6 separate regions of the Homo sapiens genome follow, and all the other regions are linked to region 6. Evidence: promoter capture Hi-C in 16 types of primary human blood cells and fetal thymus (Javierre and others, 2016). All regions are on one chromosome and are shown on one strand. The core of a region is centred on a gene start or on the middle of the fragment in contact, and the rest is flanking DNA. Distances in the headings are between cores, read along the strand shown. Region 1 overlaps ADD3 (adducin 3). Region 2 overlaps XPNPEP1 (X-prolyl aminopeptidase 1). Region 3 overlaps ADD3 (adducin 3). Region 4 overlaps ADD3-AS1 (ADD3 antisense RNA 1). Region 5 overlaps XPNPEP1 (X-prolyl aminopeptidase 1). Region 6 holds the start of SMC3 (structural maintenance of chromosomes 3).

The links. Contacts are between HindIII fragments. The CHiCAGO score rates a contact against its expected background, and 5 or more counts as called.
Region 1: a fragment that was not itself captured here is called in contact with the fragment with the promoter of SMC3 in region 6 in 7 of 17 cell types (total CD8 T cells, fetal thymus, non-activated CD4 T cells and 4 more); the score reaches 9.4 in total CD8 T cells.
Region 2: a contact is called between a fragment that was not itself captured here and the fragment with the promoter of SMC3 in region 6, in 1 of 17 cell types (fetal thymus). The highest score is 6.7, in fetal thymus.
Region 3: a fragment that was not itself captured here is called in contact with the fragment with the promoter of SMC3 in region 6 in 2 of 17 cell types (total CD4 T cells and total CD8 T cells); the score reaches 5.9 in total CD4 T cells.
Region 4: a contact is called between a fragment that was not itself captured here and the fragment with the promoter of SMC3 in region 6, in 1 of 17 cell types (total B cells). The highest score is 5.1, in total B cells.
Region 5: a fragment that was not itself captured here is called in contact with the fragment with the promoter of SMC3 in region 6 in 2 of 17 cell types (naive CD8 T cells and total CD8 T cells); the score reaches 5.3 in naive CD8 T cells.

What each region holds. Positions count from the first base shown.
Region 1 is chr10:110,014,058-110,017,381 of GRCh38, reverse strand. All of the region lies in intron 1 of ADD3 (adducin 3), which reads right to left. Among named protein-coding and RNA genes, the nearest start is that of ADD3-AS1, 7.3 kb to the right of the region's middle. RefSeq lists an enhancer at 2,198-3,003. The HindIII fragment of the contact is 3,260 bases long and covers 442-3,324 here.
Region 2 is chr10:109,876,901-109,880,242 of GRCh38, reverse strand. It overlaps XPNPEP1 (X-prolyl aminopeptidase 1), which reads left to right. Exons shown (of 21, transcript NM_020383.4): 12 at 5-55; 13 at 2,185-2,243; 14 at 2,376-2,453. Among named protein-coding and RNA genes, the nearest start is that of XPNPEP1, 45 kb to the left of the region's middle. The HindIII fragment of the contact is 6,015 bases long and covers 1-3,342 here.
Region 3 is chr10:110,030,702-110,033,950 of GRCh38, reverse strand. The region is part of intron 1 of ADD3 (adducin 3); the gene reads right to left. Among named protein-coding and RNA genes, the nearest start is that of ADD3-AS1, 24 kb to the right of the region's middle. RefSeq lists a silencer at 1,506-1,800. The HindIII fragment of the contact is 5,269 bases long and covers 1-3,249 here.
Region 4 is chr10:109,995,400-109,998,652 of GRCh38, reverse strand. All of the region lies in intron 2 of ADD3-AS1 (ADD3 antisense RNA 1), which reads left to right. It also overlaps a transcript of ADD3 not described here. Among named protein-coding and RNA genes, the nearest start is that of ADD3, 11 kb to the left of the region's middle. The HindIII fragment of the contact is 669 bases long and covers 1,020-1,688 here.
Region 5 is chr10:109,895,676-109,898,986 of GRCh38, reverse strand. The region is part of intron 3 of XPNPEP1 (X-prolyl aminopeptidase 1); the gene reads left to right. Among named protein-coding and RNA genes, the nearest start is that of XPNPEP1, 26 kb to the left of the region's middle. The HindIII fragment of the contact is 577 bases long and covers 1,660-2,236 here.
Region 6 is chr10:110,566,185-110,569,315 of GRCh38, reverse strand. It overlaps SMC3 (structural maintenance of chromosomes 3), which reads right to left and starts at 1,621. Exons shown (of 29, transcript NM_005445.4): 1 at 1,485-1,621; 2 at 303-378. The coding sequence starts at 1,499. It overlaps LOC105378483 (a long non-coding RNA gene), which reads left to right and starts at 2,008. Exons shown (of 2, transcript XR_946318.2): 1 at 2,008-2,283. RefSeq lists a silencer at 1,012-1,301 and enhancers at 1,642-1,741, 1,752-1,801, 2,616-3,131. The HindIII fragment of the contact is 2,181 bases long and covers 1-1,818 here.

The DNA of each region.
Region 1 (3,324 bases), core at 822-3,321, 550 kb after region 6:
TGGAAGTTCATCTCATGTATACGTCCTGATTCTAGTGAATTCTCAATCGTATTTACCCATGTTACCACTTCCTTAAAAACAACAACAGAAACCAAGAACCCCAGCATCAGTATTTTCCAGCCAAGGCAGAAATATCATTCTAATCTTGGTTCAACTCTTCTGTGCAGTCACCAACAAAAATAAACATAAATAAATCAGCAGTATATAGCATAGTGCTTAAGGGTATTAGCCCTGACCTCAAATCTTGGCTCTGCCCTTTGTTAACGGTACGATCTTGGGCAAGTTACTTCACTAAACTTTGGATAATTTATGTGAAGTGCTTAAAATGATCCTTGGCAGGTTTTAAAGGCTAACAAAAATGATTACTAATTAAGTAATTACATATAATATATATAAATATGTAACAATCAAGTGTATTTTTATAGCAACAATTTCAAAGCTTCCTTTCAATTCATATTTTCAAAGTTCCTTCTTGTCTGGCTTTGACAAGCCTATTCCAGATACCTTAAACCTCCACTGACCTGTAACTAGTTCTACTACCTCCAGTTCTACCCATGGCTGCTACCACAGTAAGTTTTTGGAAAATAGGGAAAGAAAAAACAAACAAAAACCAGGAAACCACTACCATACACCAAAACAACAACAAAATCTACTTTGAAACAGTGAATTCACTCAAGTAGGAATCATTGCCTTACAAAATGAGACAAAAAGGGCAGGAGAAAAAAACAATCGAAGTATTCAAGTATTCTTAAAACCCTTACCTCCAGTTAGGCAAATGATTTGTTTGCTGATTCTAAGCCCAAGCAGATTTTAACATCATTATTGTCTGCAGGAGCCATCAATAACCAACCAGACCTGCTATTGAAAGACTGCTCTCATTAAAATAATTTTCTTTACCACTTAATTTAATTTCACCACTACTCGGCTGTTTTTAACATAAGGCTCAACAACTTCTTCAGGTTTCTCTTTTCCCATGCATTCCAACAAGTACTGAATTAGTTCTTCATCATGTGTTTAGGCCTCCTGCTGGGAAGCATAATTAAAATTAAGCAGGCAACAATTCCACTTGGTACTAAGATCCTGTCAAATCCTCCAAATGAAGCTGGGCCTGGTTTCTCCAGGAACTGGCTGAGTTCTGTAAGGAAAACAGGAGCTGCTCAACTTGATGCTGGCCATTCAGTAGATGGCACTCTTCCCTTTGAGCCCAAATTAAACAGCCCCAAGAAGTATGTCCTGTTACATTCAGGTGTGACACAAAGCAGGGGTTCTCTCTTCAAAGCACTTAACTGACAGTCACAATCCCTCCTGAAATGCTGACTGGTCAAGGCAGACACTCTAAAAGAGCACAGGGACGTTTAGATTATAAGACATCAAACAATATAAAATCATCTAACTTAAGTGATTACCAATTAATCAGCTTCTCAGAGGTTATTACTATCTCAAGCAAATACACTGTTCTTATTGAGGCATAAAATGTTCCTTCCCTATTACATTCTGCTATAACAGTGACAGCCTTTCTGTGGCTAGTGACCGGACCCTTGTCTATCGCATGTTTTACTAAGGTATTTAGCTATGGCAAAGTGCTTAGAGAAATAAGATTTTATCATTATCAACATTCACTATGACAGATGAAGTAAAAATGTATTACTTTCAGCATTTTTAACTGAAAATAAATTTGATGTCCACTTAAAAAAAAAATCAAACATTCTGCCAGGCGCAGTGGCTCACACCTGTAATCCCAGAACTTTGGGAGGCCGAGGCGGACGGATCACGAGGTCAGGAGATCGAGACCATCCGGGCTAACATGGTAAAACCCTGTCTCCACTAAAATATAAAAAATTAGCCGAGCATGGTGGTGGGTGCTTGTAGTTCCAGCTGCTTGGGAGGCTGAGGCAGGAGAATGGCATGAACCCAGGAGGCGGAGCTTGCAGTGAGCCGAGATCAGGCCACTGCACTCCAGCCTGGGCGACAGAGCGAGACTCCATCTCAAAAAAAAAAAAAAAATCAAACATTCTAATATGAAAATTAGTGCAGCTCTAGTTTTTCAAAAAACAAGTATTTTTAAAGCAATGAATTTCTAATTCATTGATAATGTGTACTTTAATAAATAATAGCTCCCAATTATTAAATGTTGAGTAAGGTTTGTCACACTTCTATTTTGAAAATCTTTATTCGAAATTTAACAAGCAGACAGTTGTGGAGAAAGAAAAAAATTCCTTTTAGTGCAATCTCCAATTTAAAGCTAAAATGTTAAGCAATCAGATAGAATTCACCTTAAAAATTCTACCTTCCCATCCTGGCCAACATGGTGAAACCCCATCTCTACTAAAAATACAAAAAATTAGCCAGGCGTGGTGGCCCATGCCTGTAAACCCAGCTACTCGGGAAGCTGAGGCAGCAGAATCACTTGAACCAGGGAGTCGGAGGTTGCATTGAGCCGAGATCACGCCACTGCACTCCAGCCTGGCAACAGTGCGAGACTCCGTCTCAAAAAAAAAATTCTACCTTCCCTTAGGAAAGTGAACTCAACTCTGACAATAAAAACTGTAAAAGAAGGCTGGACGCGGTGGCTCACACCTGTAATCCCAGCACTTTGGGAGGCCGAGGCGGGTGGATCACCTGAGGTTGGGAGTTCGAGACCAGCCTGACCAACATGGAGAAACCCCATCTCTACTAAAAATACAAAATTAGCCGGGCGTGGTGGCGTATGCCTGTAATCCCAGATACTCAGGAAGGCTGAGGCAGGAGAATCCCTTGAGCCCAGGAGGTAGATGTTGCGGTGAGCTGAGAATTGCGCCATTGCACTCCAGCCTGGGCAACAAGAGTAAAAAACTCTGTCTCAAAAAAAATAAAAATAAAAAAACTGTAAAAGAAAGGCAAGGTAAGAGGTACACTGTTTTCACCTTTAAAAAGTTGGCTGTGGAAATAAGGAATACGAACAATGCATCAACTTCATTGCAAATCCCTTTCTACCTCCCATTTGTGCAGCTCAGGCAATGAAGCATTCCACTCATCCAAGGCACTTATGCCCAATCACAACTCCATTTGAGCTCTGACCATTGCCATTTTCCAACCACCTCCTTAGATATTAAAAGGCTGACCTTCTAGAATTTTTTTGTCATGTATTAAGACAAATGAGAACAGAAGTCACGATGCAGCTAACAGTTGCTCACTCTAACTTCCTAGGGCGTAAAAGTGGAGTGTTCTTAGAAGTCCCTGGGGAGGCCTTGACTTCCAAATTTACTTCCTTAGATATACCAAGTAAGCCTAACTATCTTCTTCAGGAGGATGAGTAAACCCAACTTTCTGCTCTAGCATTTAGTC
Region 2 (3,342 bases), core at 733-3,232, 690 kb after region 6:
ACAGATTAAAGATGCTGTTGCTCTCTGTGAACTCTTTAACTGGCTGGAGAAAGAGGTTGGTTCTTAGTCTTTGTTTAATATGTGGATATACATTATTCAGACCTACCTATATGTGATTCTAACTCTAGCATCTCCCATGCTCTGCTGACCATGAGATCTGAGATCTTCATCAAATTTTTGGGCTCTATTTTAATAATTCTCTCTGGAAATTTGGTGTGTGTAGATTTCAAAATTCCTTAATTATGAAAATAGTAACAAGAATGAAGAAAAGTTCCATAATAGAGTGGATGCTTTTTGGGTTAGGGAATCATAACTAAGTGGAATTTCATTATAAGGAAAAATGAGTCTTATAATATTATTATAGGCAAGCTGATTGTATTAGGAGAAAAAGATCTTTGTGTACATTTTGAACTTCAGTTTAAGCCTTGAGCCTTTTTATATTAAATTGACTCTTGGCCATTAATTTCTTGCTCTAGTTGACAAGAGGGTGGTTTCTCTGTGGTGTTATTAAACAATATCATGTTCCCTTTAAGTATTGTATAAACAACTCTTTAATTGGGAAAAGAAAATATTGTCTTTATTCCCACTAGTGTAACTTTTTCCCTCATGTTTCCTTCTGGTGATTGTTCATCTATGTAAATTATTATTATTATTTTATTTTATTTTATTTTTTGAGACGGAGTCTCACTCTGTCACCCAGGCTGGAGTGCAGTGGTGTGATCTCGGCTCACTGCAACCTCTGCTGCCCAGGTTCAAGAGATTCTCCTGCCTTAGCCTCCCAAGTAGCTGGGATTATAGGCGCCTGCCACTGCGCCTGGCTAATTTTCGTAGTTGTAGTAGAGATGGGGTTTCACCATCTTGGCCAGGCTGGTCTTGAACTCCTGACCTTGTGATCCACCCACCTCGGCCTCCCAAAGTGCTGGGATTACAGGCATGAGCCACCATGCCTGGACTTTATGTAAATTATTATTATTACATTTTTATTATTTTTTTTTATTTTTGAGACAGAGCCTTGCTCCATCGCCCAGGCTGGAGTGCAGTGGAGCGATCTCGGCTCACTGCAAGCTCCGTCTCCTGGGTTCACGCCATTCTCCTGCCTCAGCCTCCCGACTAGCTGGGACTACAGGCGCCCGCCACCATGCTTGGCTAATTTTTTGTATTTTTAGTAGAGACGGGGTTTCACTGTGTTAGCCAGGATGGTCTCGATCTCCTGACCTTGTGATCCGCCCGCCTCGGCCTCCCAAAGTGCTGGGATTACAGGCGTGAGCCACCGTGCCTGGCCGTAAATTATTTTTAAAAATATAAATTATTTTTACATGTCTCTTAGTGTGCAGATAAATTTTTTTTCTTTTTTTTTTTCTTATTTTGAGATGGGGTCTCATCTGTTGCACAGGCTGGAGAGTAGTGGTGTGATCACAGCTCACTGCAGCCTCAGCCTCCCCAAGCTCAGGTGATCCTCCCACCTCAGCCTCCCGATTAGTTGGGACTACAGCCCACCTGATTTTTTCTGATTTTTTTGTAGAGATAAGGTTTTGCCATGTTGCCCAGGCTGATCTGAAACTCCTGGGCTCAAGCGATCCACCTATCTTGGCCTCCCAAAGTGCTAGGATTATAGGTGTGAGCCATCACACCTGGCTTAGATATGATTTTGTGTTTTATTTTATTCTCTTAGAATCATAGTGTGAACATTTTCCATGTACATTGAGGCCTTAAAAAAGGATCCAAATGAAAACTGCATCTAGTGGCTCTTCTGATTTACTAACCCAGTCCTCCTATTTTTAAATGTTTGGGTTGTTTTTAATTTTTTGCTGTTATCAGTAATCCTGCAATAATCTCTCCGCATTTATCTTTTTTATTTCTCTAGAATGATTTTCTTACGATGATTTCTTAGGAGGGGATGCTTTTGAATTTTTAAACTTAGATATGTTGTTTTGGGAGGTTTTAGGATAAAATACTGAAGCACAATAGTTGAGTGAAAAATTAAATGAATAGAAACTATTGGATTTTAGATAGCTTTGGTGAGAGCCTTTGGGAGTTCTCCCTTGCTAAAGATGTGTCCTGTAGATTGGTCAGTTGGGATGAAGCAATTGAGGAAAAAGTGAGCTTTTAATGTACCTCCTCTAATTTGTAAGAGGCACACATGAATTTATCTCACCAGATGATTTATAAGCAATTTTCTCATAGGTTCCCAAAGGTGGTGTGACAGAGATCTCAGCTGCTGACAAAGCTGAGGAGTTTCGCAGGTAAGGATCCATTTGGGGGGACCCAGGAGCCTCGTGCTGATTTTCTTGCTAGTTGAATGAGGCTGGAAGGGCCCTGAATCTTAGCACAGTAAAAACCTTTAAGCCACTCTGCTTTCTGTCTTTCTGTTACAGGCAACAGGCAGACTTTGTGGACCTGAGCTTCCCAACAATTTCCAGTACGGGACCCAACGGCGCCATCATTCACTACGCGTAAGGCATGCGGAGGAGCATGCTGCCTGGCCTTGCTGCTTCTGCACAGGAGCCTGAGCAGGGGAGAGACATTATTTTACCAGAGGCCTCTGTGCCCACCTTCATCTGTCTGTTGAGACTGTAAAATGAAGGGAAATAAGACTTCTAAGATTTTATTTTCTCCCAATCCCCAAGCCTCTGCCTTTTGGGAGCCTCTTCTTAGGCTCAGTATGGCACTGGCATTCTCTGCAGGGTAGTCAGATGGGTGTCCCTCTTTCCTTTTTGAAGCTGCAGGAACTGTATGCATAGCCCTTGCATCTTGATGACTAAGTTTTTTTTTTTTTGGAGACAAGGTCTTGCTCTGCTGCCCAGGCTGGAGCGCAGTGGTGCCATCACAACTCACTGCAACTTTGAACTCCTAGACTCAAGCAATCCTCCTGCCTCAGCCTCCTGAGTAGCTGGGACTATAGGCATGTGCTACCACTCCTGGCTAATTTTTAGATTTTTTTGTAGAGATGAGGATCTTGATGTGTTGCCCAGGCTTGTCTCGAATTTCTGGACTCAAGCAATCCTCCTGCCTCAGCCTCCTAAAGTGCTGGAATTACAGGTGTGAGCCACTGTGCTTGGCCCATGACTGGAATTTTTGAGTAGTTTTCTTTCTTGGTAACAGCAGCTGTTTTGTACTAGTCCATACATCTTGTGAGCTCCATCAGTTCCATACCAAAAAAAAACTTAGTAGTAGGTTGTGAGGCAACCTGTTTTGGGTGGAGAGATAATCAGTACCCTCTCTTCCTGTCCCCCTGAGCCTGAAGCCTGGCATCCCAGTATGTGGTTTTTTTACCACGTGGTCTACAAGAACCCATGGACCCACAGGGCCGAGCCTCCCTTCCTTGTGAGACAGAGGGGCACT
Region 3 (3,249 bases), core at 467-2,966, 540 kb after region 6:
AGATGGTACAGAAAGTAGTTTCCCAAACATATTTGGCACTATTTATCCTGAGAAATCTCTTAGAACTAATGATCTACATTAGTGGGAAATGCAGATGAGTTAATCCTAATAAACACTGCAGGCAACTAGCAAATTACGGTCCCAGAGATTCAAAATAGAAATTAAAGGCAGCTGAGTATAGCACAATGACTTTATTGTCCCTATTTATTATTTACAAGAATGCACAAAGTATTTGCACTATATACATAATACTTGCACTATATACATTTTAATATAGCACTTATGAGAATTTTTAAATTAAAAATTAACTGGTTTTTAAGTAACTATACTTCAAGAACACTGCTCCCTCTATGAAATCCCATTCCCCAGAAACGGGCCCATCTGATTAGCACAGCTGATCTGCCAGCTGGATGGATCCCAAGTAAATTTCAAACCAGCACTTGGCAAAATATCCCTGTACCCTGCATTTTACATGGAACACAAACTAAAGATGCATTCTGGGACTGCCCTGAGAACCAAACAATTGTATGGCGACATGAACATATTCTCTTTATCCTCTTTATATTAAATTTGCTAGATGACCAATTTAAACAATACTTCAAATGCTGTGCTTGAATTCTGCTTACATCTATTCTGCTATTAGTCTGTTGGCATCTAACACTGGATCAGAAAAGACTGCCATCTGGTAGTTATAGCAGCCCTTCACTAACTTGGTCAGAAGTTGAAGACCATAAGCCTCAGAGAAATGCAAACCAAGTTTATTACTATGAATATATCAAAATCTTCTTTTTGTAAAGCCATTCAACAGGGTTTTTCATTCAAAGAGAAACACTGTGCTCACACACATTATATAATCGACCTATAAAAGTCAGGTTTTAAAGGAGTTAAAGGGATGAATGATTAAATTAAATGAGTAATTAGGTCCACATTCCCCTCACCCACAAGGCTGCCACTGTCTCTTTTATAAAGCCTAGGGATGAGAGCCAAATTGGCTCTATTTAAATTGGCTATTTAATTTAACTCTAACTTCTCTTAATCATAATGTGTGTGTTCTTGGGTACAAATTTTTTCCTCTCGATAAAGTTTCTGGTAGGCAATACTTTAGATGAAGAGAAATAATTAACAGTATAAAAACAATAACAACATGTATACAGCATATGAGCACGCACAAAGTGTTTTCAAACTTAGCATGATCTTAATCAGGAAGGAAAGCCAGAGAAGTATTAATAGAATAGCGATTATTTCAGATTCTAACACTTTCATAAGGTTACACACTTAGGGTAATGGTAGAGCTGAGAAAGCTGAATCCACACCACCTAGTCAGAAATTCTCTTTCTAGCATACTATACTCTTTCCTGAAATAGTATTTTACAGTTTACATAGCTCTTAGTATTATAAATACAATATGCATGTACATGTACAAATACTATGCACTCTGAATTTGCCCAAGTATCCCTGCTGCCCACTTCCCCAGTCTGGTTTTACTCCCTTTTTCCTTTTTTGTCCTTCCTTTTCTCTCCTTATCTTTCCAAAGTCACCACCACTTGCTTGAGCCTGAATGAAGGCAGAAGTGGATGAGTGAATGCAGGATCCACCCTTTAAGAGCACTCATGATTTGTGATCACATCTATTCTAACTTAGAGACTAGCATGCCAACACATGGACTATTTCTCCGAGCTCTCATTCTTAATGCAACAATGTCAAGGACATGGCCATTAAGAGATGACCTAGGATTACATAACACTTATCCAGCTTAATATGCTTATTCTATCCCATTATTTTACTTCAACCCTCTTTGTCTATAAAAATCTCTTTCCTTATATGGCCAGTCTCTGAAGTCCAAGATTTGATATTCCTGGCATTTAGCAAAGGAGACTCTTCTTGTATCTCTTCCTGAAGGCATCTGAAACATTTTTTGTGACTGATTTTCCAGGTGAGAAAGTCATAGGCTTGATCTATACCGTTCAACTGGCTGCCAATAAGATTAAATCTCTTTGAAGTTGCTAAGAGGGGAAACTTTAAATGTTATCACAAAAAAAAAAAAGTATTGAGGTAATACATATGTCAATTAGACTGATTTATGCATTCTCATAAATCATATTCTAAAACCTTATGTTCTAAATGTATACGTATTCCAAATCATGTTTTAGATAATACATACATGTAACTTTTGTCAATTTTTAAAAGTTACTTAAAAAAAAAAAATAGCTCATGTCTCTTCATTAACATCTAGGCCACTCACTAGGTACCAGATAGGGTAGGAGGGTGGCGCATTAAAGTCATCCACCAAGACAAAGGAAAACAACTTAAGGATCCTAAGTACTGATCAGTCAACACCATTTGCCAAGAAACTCCTTTATAAACAGTACTCCGCTTCATGTTAAAGGACACACATGGAAATGAAAACATAGGGGAGTATAATACAGCTGAAAGAACACTGGTTCTAGAACCAGGCTGGCTTAGGTTGGAATTCCATTCTGCCACCTACTAGTTGCCACTTACCCAGAGCAAAGTCACAATGTATCTGAATCTGTTTCTTCGTAATTTAGAATATAAATCCGGTGGAACTGATGTGAGGATTCATGATTTTACCTAAAGTACCTAGCACTGTACCTTGCACATGGCAGGTGCCCAATGGATAGTAGCCATAAATTTATTTTTTATTTTGATTTTTTGAGGGACAGAGTTTTGCTCTTGTTGCCCAGGCTGGAGTGCAATGGCACAATCTCAGCTCACTGCAACCTCCCCCTCCGGGTTCAAGGGATTCTCCTGCCTCAGTCTCCCGAGTAGCTAGGACTACAGGCATGCGCCACAACGCCCAGCTAATTTTGTAGTTTTAGTAGAGACAGTGTTTCCTCATGTTAGTCAGCTGGTCTCGAACTCCCGACCTCAGGTGATCCACCTGCCTCGGTCTCCCAAAGTGCTGGGATTACAGGCGTGAGCCACCGTGCCTGGACTTACAAATTTATTTTTATCACCTGTTTTCAAGAAGCTGGTCAGGAGTCACCAACCATTAAAGATAGTGGGTGGAGCAAGTGGTTTGGTTTCGTTTTTTAAACTTCATCAATGGGAGAGTTAGAGAAGGAGTAGAGGTTGCTTGTAGGCAATAGCTCTCAAAACAGCACTGTAATACAAATTGGACGAGCCAAGTCAGCTGGAATAGCTGTAGCCAATGTAATCAATATATTAAAAAAAGTTATTTTATGTTCTTTTTCTTGTACTAGGTCTTTGAAATCTGTATATTTTTAT
Region 4 (3,253 bases), core at 105-2,604, 570 kb after region 6:
GAGAGAGGCCCAAGACAGGAGAGCTAGGTGGGGGCTGGATCATGTGGGTCTGGCAGATCATGGTGAGGAGTTTGACTTTCAGAAGGTTTTAAGCAAAGGAAGGCTACAGTCTCATTTGCATTTTTGGAATTTCCTGGCTGCTATGTGCAGAATGAACACTAGAGAGATGTGACTAGAGACTGGGAAGCTAGTTAGGAAGCCATTAAAGTCATCCTGACAAGAGGAAATGGGGTCTTGTTGTAGGGGTAGCTGTGGAGAAGAGAAGTGAAAGATCTTGGGTATATTTTGGAGACTTGCTGATGGAGTACATGAGTTGAGTGCAGAAAAGGAGAGAAAGAGAGGACTCAATCCAGAGTGATCTCCAAAGCCTTTGACCTTAGTGTCTTGATGGATGGTAGTACCATTACCTGAGACAGAGAAGACTTGAGAAGAAGTAGTATAACAGATAAAAGCGAGCCCTTCTGCTAAGTTTGAGATTACCCTCTTTCTTCTCTTCAGAGTACAAACTCCACTTTATAATTATTTTGTTAATTAATTTTGTTGTACTTATTTATCATTAATTTCCTCCCCATAGGAATCTTCAAAAGAGCAAGAACTTTATCGTGTTCATTGTTGTATCCCTAGTACAGTCTAGAGTCTAGAACATTGATGGTCACAGAGTATATACCCAATAAATATTAGGATTTGTTGAGACTGGTTCAGTAGTTCTCAAATTTAAGTGTACATGAAAACCGCCCGGATTTAGATCGTTATTAAAAGTTAGCATCAGCCCCCATCTTAACCCTTCCCCATCAAAACTCTTCTGTAGTAGGTCTGATGTTGCACTCTGGAAGCTGCACATTTAGCCAGCACTGTAGGTGTGCAGTGGACTACAAGTTTAGATGTATCAGTGTTCTTTCAAATATTTGCCTTAGAAACTACATTTCAGTGGCATCTGTGTAAAAGACCACAAAGCATGGCTTTAAGAATTCAATGGCATTCCCAAATATAGTCAAATCATACGGTGTGATTTAAAAGCTTTTGAGAGAAAAGCAGCGAAAGAATCCTAGAGTCCCTTCTGTCTCGTTTGACTTATAGACTGTCATTGTGAAGGGGTCCTTCAGAAGGATTCATCATGTGAAGAAAAATGGCTACCTAAGTGCAGGGATTTCAAGGGCAGCAACAGCCTTCTCTGACTATATCTCCAAAGTATCCCTATTTACAGGTCTGTGAAATTCCTTTACTTGTTGATTATAGTAAATGTTTGTTTTTGTTTGCACAGCATTCCTTGCCTTTTCCAGTAAGGGTGCCCCAATATTCCTTTGGAGCCTTTTTTTACCTCATTGCTGCAGCTTGGCACCCCACCCTCTTCTGAGATAGGGGCTGACCCCATGCTGAATCAAACAGATAATCTCTTCCTAGCATTTGAATCTTGAGTAATAACACAAAGACTTAAGATTAGAATTCCACCTAAAGGAGGTCCTAGAAGAAAATGAGATTAGATACTGCTACGAAGACCTCATAAAACCCACTTAGCTCCTGTCTTTACAAGACCCTATTCTTCAGCTTTCTCTTCAATTCTGTGAGCTCTGTGCCTTATTCTTCCAATAAATTCCTGCTTTGCTTAAGTTAGAGTGACCTCAGTTGCTTGAAATATAATCTATGGCATAGCAATAAAAACCTTGTGATCTATAGTTAGAGGTAAAGCTTTCAAAACAAATCCTTCCTGGGAGTAGTAACACATTAACCTAAATTCTCACTAAAGTGTAAATGTATGATAGCAGAACCTGAACAGCACAATTCATTGAGGCCGAAGAGAGTGAAGAGCTCCATGGCTTGACATCAGTCACACCACTGAGGTAGGAAGGAAAGTTTAACGCATGATTTAAATACCTTGCTGCAAACTGTCTACACTTTTATTTCATAGTTTCTACTAAGCCCTCCCAGATACTGAGTTTCTACCTTCAGACTAAACTTTCAGAGCAAGGCTTTCCAAAGCAGGGCATAATTACTAGGACACATAAACCTAAGACATTAATTTATGAACATGAGAATTCATAACATTAAATTTAGTTCTCATTTCCTTCTCTGGCCCCAGGGGAAAAAGAGGAACATCCTGTCCTTTTAATCATTTGAGTTAAATCCTAGTCATTTGTTGACCTTCCTCCTTCCCCCATTTTTGAAAAGACTTATGACTCTTTAAAACGCTAAGAAATTAATGACTTACCTCATGTCTTATGCACAGTATCTTCTGAACAAGCCAAGTTTCTCACAGTCTCATTCACAATGATTACTGAAACTAAAGTAACAACAGAAAGCATACTGAACAAAGCCAGCAGGAGTTCTGGGTGTAAGCCACACCCAGGGAGAGATAACGAAGCATGTTGTAGTTTAACAAGAGTAATAAAAATGAAATCTAATCACTTGCAGATTATATACAGTATAAATAGAGATCAAGTTGTAAAAACCAGTCTAGTTAATATTTTTTATTTTTAATAGCGGTTGGTATTTGTGAAAATTAAACATAACAAAATCTGGATATAAAACAATATTGATTCTGCATGGCCAATCATTTTCATTTCAAATGGGGGTGGAGAAAAATCACCATTCTTATTAAAACATAATAGTATTACTAACATTTGCTGAGCACTCACTATGTGCCAGGTACTGTGTTAAGTGCTTTTTAATGTAGGTTGTTTCATTTAATACACCTCCATGAGGTATTGCCCTAATATACCTGTTTAGAAACAGTGGAACTAAGGCACTGAGAGGTTAAGTAATTTGCCCAAGATCAAAGAGCAGGTAAATAGCAGTGGTTGGGTTTTGAATCCAGGTAATGTTAGACACACCTGACAGTGATAACTTGACATGTGCATATCCTGAGAATGATCCTACATGGCAGATGCACCTGAATGTGTGTTCAGAATTCTGAGCTAAGAAATCCAAGAGTGGCCAAATCAGGGATCTGTTCCTTATCTTAGAAGGACCATCTGAGCGCCTATCCTGTCCAGTGGAGTGAGGGCTGTACAGGAGATCGAGGTCCTTTGTTTTCGGTTAAATGAAAGTTGCCAGGTGGAGGTTTTAGGCACGGGGAGTTAAGCGAAAATACTATGTAAACTGCATGCTTTTTTCAAGTGGTTCTCATACCCAGCCCACCGCCACTGGCCTCTCTCCTCTGTAAAACTCCATGTCTCTGAGTCTCTTCTTTGGCCTCTTGAACGTGGTGCCATCCCCATTATAGTCTATAGGAGTTCAGCACAACACCAGGCAACAA
Region 5 (3,311 bases), core at 699-3,198, 670 kb after region 6:
GAGGCACAGTGCCAAGCTCATGGCTGATGGGAGAAGAGGGTCAGGGAAGGGGAAAGATGTCACGCTAATGTGGACTCTAGTAACTTTAGTCATGCTTATCTTGGCAGTCAGCTGTCAGCTTTACTTGGCAAGTTCCATCGGCATGTGACCAGCCATGTTGATCCCTCTTCTTAAAACCCAGCTCTGGTCATGTCACCACCCTCTCTTCAACTTTTAGTGTCTCTCTAGAACTTGCAGGATAAAGTTCAAGCCTCTTAGTCTGGTGTTTGAGGTCTTTGACTATTTGTCTTCAGACGGCCTTTACAGAAATCTCTGCAGCTGCTCCCTTGAACTTCTTGCCCCTGCCATTAGGCTAATTGGGTGTCGCCTCATGACAGGCCTCTTGCCTCTTGCTTCTGGGCCTTGTCACACCTTTCCCTCTGGACTGTTTTCCTGCTCTCTTCGCCTATCCTTGGTGGCCCAGTCAAACCTCTGAGCTTGGTCTGATGGATCTAAGGCACATCTGAGCATCCTTTAAACTATAGCAAATACCACACTGCATGTTCAGCATCGTTTATATGGCTGTTTATTAGTGTTAATATTTCATGGAATATCTGTCTACTATTGCCGATTGTCCACTTCGAGAAGATAGTTTCTTATGTTTGCTATAGAGTCAAGCTCGGTGCAGTTCATAGCAATAAGTGCTGCAGTTCATCAGATGTTCGGCATGCGCTAATTGCTTTATGTCACACCTCAACCCTTCAAGGTGGGCATTATGTTCATCCCCATTTTACAGATGAGGAAGTTGAGCCCCAGGTTCACCCAGCTAGTAAGTGGGGAACCAGGCTTGAACAGAGTTCTAACTGCTGGTTGTAGGAGATGTCTATTCTGTGGCTGATGAAAGTAGAGGTAAGTGCAGCATACACCTCGTATTCCTTGTTCCCTCAGAATTTATAATCCAATTGTGAGACTAGATGTGTACAACTTCTGTACAAAAGTAGAAGAGGTTGCTTGGCAGCTTGCAAGGGTATGGGCTTTCGAAAGTCAGACCTGAGGCTGGGTGCAGTGGCTCATGTCCATAATCCCAGCACTTTGGGAGGTCGAGGCAGGCGGATCACTTGAGGTCAGGAGTTCGAGACCAGCCTGACCAACATGGCAAAACCCTGTCTCTACTAAAAATACCAAAATTAGCTGGGTGTGGTGGTGGGCGCCTGTAATCCCAGCTACTTGGGAGACTGAGGCATGAGAATCGCGTGAACCTGGGAGGTGGAGGTTGTAGTGAGCCTAGATTGCGCCACTGCACTCCAGCCCAGGCGACAAAGCAAGACCCCATCTTAAAAAAAAAAAAAGTCAGACCTGAGTTCAGATCTTGGTTCTGCCATTTACTGTGGTGTTACCTTGGGGAAGTTAGTTATTTCTCTAAGCTTCATTTTTTTCATCTGTAGATTAGCGAGGGATGATACCTTCCAGGGCTGCTGTGAGGATTAGAATGAGAGGAAATGAATACAGTTATTGACTAGTAGGTGTTGAGACAATAATAAACAATACAGACTAAATAATCTTAGCTAACATTATTTGTCAGCATTATCCAAGGTAGGGTATGGATAAGTGCCAACATGGATGGTCCTGTAAAATTCAGAAATGTGGGAGCCTCTGAAAGCTGAAGTGGGTCAGGAAGCTTCATGGAAAAGGGAGCACTTGAACCAGATTTTTGAGAGATGACTAGCTTTTTTTTTTTTTGTAGTTTACAGATGCTTTATTTGGCTATGTATTGTTTATATTGTTGGAATTAGATGCCAACATTTAAAAATTGGGTAATTTCTCATGAACCCATATTTCTGGCTTCTTCTGAAATATTGAAGGTTAGCAACATGTGGCCTGCATTTCAGAAATCAGAGCTGAGTAGGAGCTGCTGTCTTTAGAAAAGATATCCTTTGTCCTGTACCCTGAGGTATTTGAATTTGAAACCCCATTTATAATCCCTTACGATCTTTTCCCCATTAGATAATGTATTAGTTTCCTATCACTGCTATAACAAATTACCACAGTGACTTAAAACAAATTTATTCTCTTATGGTTCTGGAAGTCTGAAGTCTAAAATGGGTCAGCAGGGCTATGTTACTTCTGCAGGCTCCAGGGAGAGTCCATTTCCTTGCCTTTTCCAGTTTCTGGAGGCCACCTGCATTCCTTGGCTCATGGTCCCTTCGTCCATCTTCGTAGATATGGTTGAGGTTTTAACTGGATGTAGGGAAAAGCTTCATGTCTCTTTCTGCTTGTTCATTTATAATACAAATGTGGGTTGAGGATCTAGTCACCTGTGCTGAGTGCAGGGACAGGACAGATACCCTGATCTCATGGAACTTATATGCTTGGGGTTAAGATGGGGGTTGAGGAACAAGACAATAAACATATAAAAAGTTCATTAAGAAGAGAAACATTGCCCAGCATGGTGGCTCTTGCCTGTAATCCTAGCACTTTGGGAGGCTGAGGCAGGCTGATCACTTGAGCCCAGAAGTTCAAGGCCAGCCTGGCAACGTGGTAAAACCCCGTTTCTACAAAAAAAAAAAAAAAAAAGGTGTGTGCCTGCTGTAGTCCCAGCTATTGAGAAGATTGAGGTGGGAGGATTGCTTGAACCTGACAGGTCAAGGATACAATGAGCCATAATTGTGTCACCACACTCTAGCTAGGGTAACAGAAGGCGATCCTGTCTCCAAAAGAAAAAAAAAAAAAAAAAGACAAATATCTAGAGTATGTGTGTGCTATACAGAGACTTAAAAGTGGCCAGGTGGCTATTATAGCTGGGTAGTACAGGTAGGCCTCTCTGTAGAGGTGATATTTGATCTCAAATGTAATGATGAGAAGGACCTAGCCATACCATGATCAGAAATACTTTTATAGGCACAAGGAAGCACATGTGCCAAGGCCTTGAGGCAGGAATGAGCTCAGGATATGCAAAGAGCAGAAAGGAGGTGGGTGTGTCTGGAGCATGGTGAATGGGAGCAGAGCTGCAAGAGGACTGGCAAAGTCAGATCAGCTGGTACCTTGACTGGGCCAGAGTTTGGATTTTATCTTAAATATAATAGGAAGCCATTGGAGGGTTTTAAGGAGGTTGCTAACATGATCTTAGATATTTGGAAAAGCTCACTCTGAGTGTATGTGCAGAGTGGATTGTAGGGGCGGTAGTCCAGGTAGAGATGATGGAGGCTTGGACTGAGTGCTGCTATTAGAAATGGAGAGAAGTGGGTGGTTTTGAGAAAAAGCCAGCAGCTGTGCTTCTTTGTGCCTTTTTCCTAGCATGCTACAGCTTTGGTTTATTTTAGGCCCTATGCTGT
Region 6 (3,131 bases), core at 372-2,871:
CATTTTCACTAGGATATATAACAAGAACAGAAGAGCGGAAATGCTTTAAAACACTCTTACACACACATACAAGGCTACCTAGATAAAAAATGGATAACTTATGAGTGTCTTATCCAAACATTTTAAGTTTATAAAAATAAGCAATTCATCAGTGCAATAAGACAGAAAAGTTATTTCACGCAGAAAAATATAACTTAATATTCAAAGACAATTCCTGTCTCCTTAAGCCAATATAGAAATGGACAGAATTTACATTATCTGTATAGACTATAAATATGACCGAGTAAACCAAGAACACTTACCAATCACATTATGTTTTGAACTGAAGGGATCTACAATTGTTTGATCTCTGTAACTTCGAAAACCCTGGATAATCACCTAGTAAATAAAAAACATTTTTGAGAACCCACCCCACAAAAAAAATTAACATTTTTCTCTTGCATTTCTTTCTTGTTTTTCATTTAATGCAATATAGAAAACTCGAAATTTCATATAAGAAAAATTCATTTTGGAAAGTGGTGATTAAAAATCTGCTAAAAAAAAAAAAAGGTACTTTTATCGGTAATCTTTGCCAAGGCAATGCTGCTGGGTTTTATTTTTTTTTAGGAGTTATGCTGTCAACCTGTTAAGGACCTTTCAAAATCAAAAACACTGTGTGAGCTTAACTGAACCCTAAACGCTGCAGTACAATAGCAAGTCTATAAAAGCAGGCCGACGGGCCCCAGCTCTCCTGACTCCAAGACCACCGAGTGCTGCTTTCAGTCACTCACGCCGGCCAGCCTGAAAGAACCCACGTTCCAAAGAAGGAGTGCTCAGAGCCCGACAGACCCAACAGAAAACCGTCTCCAAGGCCGTGTGCCTGGGCTCATCTTTGTGGTGGAGTCCCGCGCGGGAAGACCATTTTGACAGAAGTAAACAACCGAGGGAGGCGGCGCTCCGTATCCTGCAAGCAGGAGGGTCCCGCTCACTTCGCGGGTTAACTGGGGAGAAGAACGGCTCCCCGCAGTGACAGGTGACGACACCCCAGCCAATGCCCCCAGGGCCGCCCCCGGGCCGGGGAAGCCACCTTTCCACACATCCCAGGCACATGGGCCGTGTGAGGCCACCCCTGCAGGACCACACAGCCCTTCCCGCCCGCGGCCGCCCCGGCGGGGTGCCCCCCGCCAGCTCTGGGGCCACCCAGGAAGGCCCAGTCCCTCCCAGCGGCCCGCCCGCCGGCCCTTCCACACCTCTCGGAGATCCTGCCTCTCCCAGACAAGCGCCAGCAGGGAGGCCGGGGCTGCAAAGGAGTGCCCCAATTCTCCGCGACCCCGCAGCCGGGGCACTAGCGGGACCCGGGTCTCCCTCCTCCCCCACAGTCCCCGCCCAGCCCTGGTCCAGCCTGTGGAGACAGGGGAGAGGCTGCGGGTGGCGCCGCAACACTCCCGCCTCAAGGAGCGGCCCTTACCGGCCCATGACGGGGTGGAGGGACGCGAAGGCCTTACCTGCTTTATGTACATGATTCCGGGCCCCTGGCCTGGAAGGAGACCTGCCCCGGAGCAGCAACCGCACGGCCGCAGGGTCAGGTGAGGCGCCTACGCGACCCCTCCCCCAAAGCGCCGCTCGCTCCCCTCAGCCAAACAAAATGGCGGCGCTCGTGGGGGCGGAGTCCGCGCCTCGGACGGAACCACCTTGCAGCCTTCACAGGGCGTAGGAGGAGTCAAGTTCAGGTCTGCTCTTTCTTTTAGGCAAAACCAGTCCTCCACAGCGTTTTTTGGTGGATTTCTTTTGAATCTAGAATTCTGTAGCTAACGCTTTCCTGAGACTTAGTCAAAAGCTTCACTCGGAAAATCTATGACCGTAGGGTTGGTCCGTACCACCTCCGAGCGCGGGGCCAATGGTCGCGTCCACAAAGGGGGAAAGGTTCCGCGCCAAAGCCAAGAGGGAGACTCCGAGGGCCAGTAGCGCCGCGGGCTGTCGGCCACGTGATTCCGCGCTGTTTAAAAAAGCGGACCTCGCGCGCACTGTGCTAGCCTTGGAACACATGGAATGCTGGTGATTCTTGGAATTCTGTGTGCGGAGTCACTGCTGCCCCTTTGTTATCGCTCTCCATAGGAACGTTTACAATCTTAGCACGCCCCAAGCTGGTTACGAATTGCCCACTCGGAGGACAACCCCGAAGGGATTTGTCAATGCTCGAAAATTTGTTTTAATAATGTGATGATTAATTCCGTCGGGAACTGTTTCTGTTCTACCATCTGCTATAAATCTAGGCAGATCTGTACAATTGCAACAAAGATTTAGGTAAGGCTGAAAGCTTTTAATCCACTTTAAAAACAAAAGAAAACAGCCTGAAAGATACTAGGTGCTAGTGGCAACCCTAGGTCTGTCTGATCCTTGTCAGTCTTGGGAGAAAAACATCATTTGTTTAGAAAATGAATCTCTGGGCTGCTCTGAAATTACTTGCTGGGAAGAGAACAAAATAACTACCCAAATCATCCCCAGCCCCACCCCCGCCCGCTGCTGGAGACAATTCTGGCCCTAATTATTTCTAGATTGAACTATTTTTAGTAGCCTCCTAACTGCCTCTGCTAACCAGGGTATCTCCCTAGGAGTCCTTTATCTGGAGCCCGGATCAAATCCTATCCAGCCCTTGGTTTAAAAAAATAAATAGGCCTGGTCGAGTGGCTCAAGCGTGTAATCCCAGCACTTTGGGAGGCTGAGGGGGGAGGATCACCTGAGGTCACGAGTTCAAGACCAGCCTGGCCAGCATGGCGAAACCCCCGTCTCTACTCGAAATACAAAAATTAGCTGGGCGTCGTGGCGGGTGCCTGTAATCCCAGTTAGTCGGGAGGCTGGGGCAGGAGAATTGCTTGAATCCAGGAGGCAGAGGTTGCAGTGAGCCAAGATCGCGCCACTGCACTCCAGCCTGGGCAACAGAGCGAGACTGTCTCAAAATAAATTAAATAAATATGTAAGCATTTTCTTTTCTTTATTTCTAACTTTTTTTTTTTTTTTTGACAGGATCTTGCTCTGTCACCCAGGGTGGAGCTGGAGCATAGTGGCTCGGTCATGGTTCACTGCAGCCTCAAACTCCTGGGTTCAAGCCATCCTCCCACCTCAGCCTACAGGCTGTGGCCACCAAGCCCAGC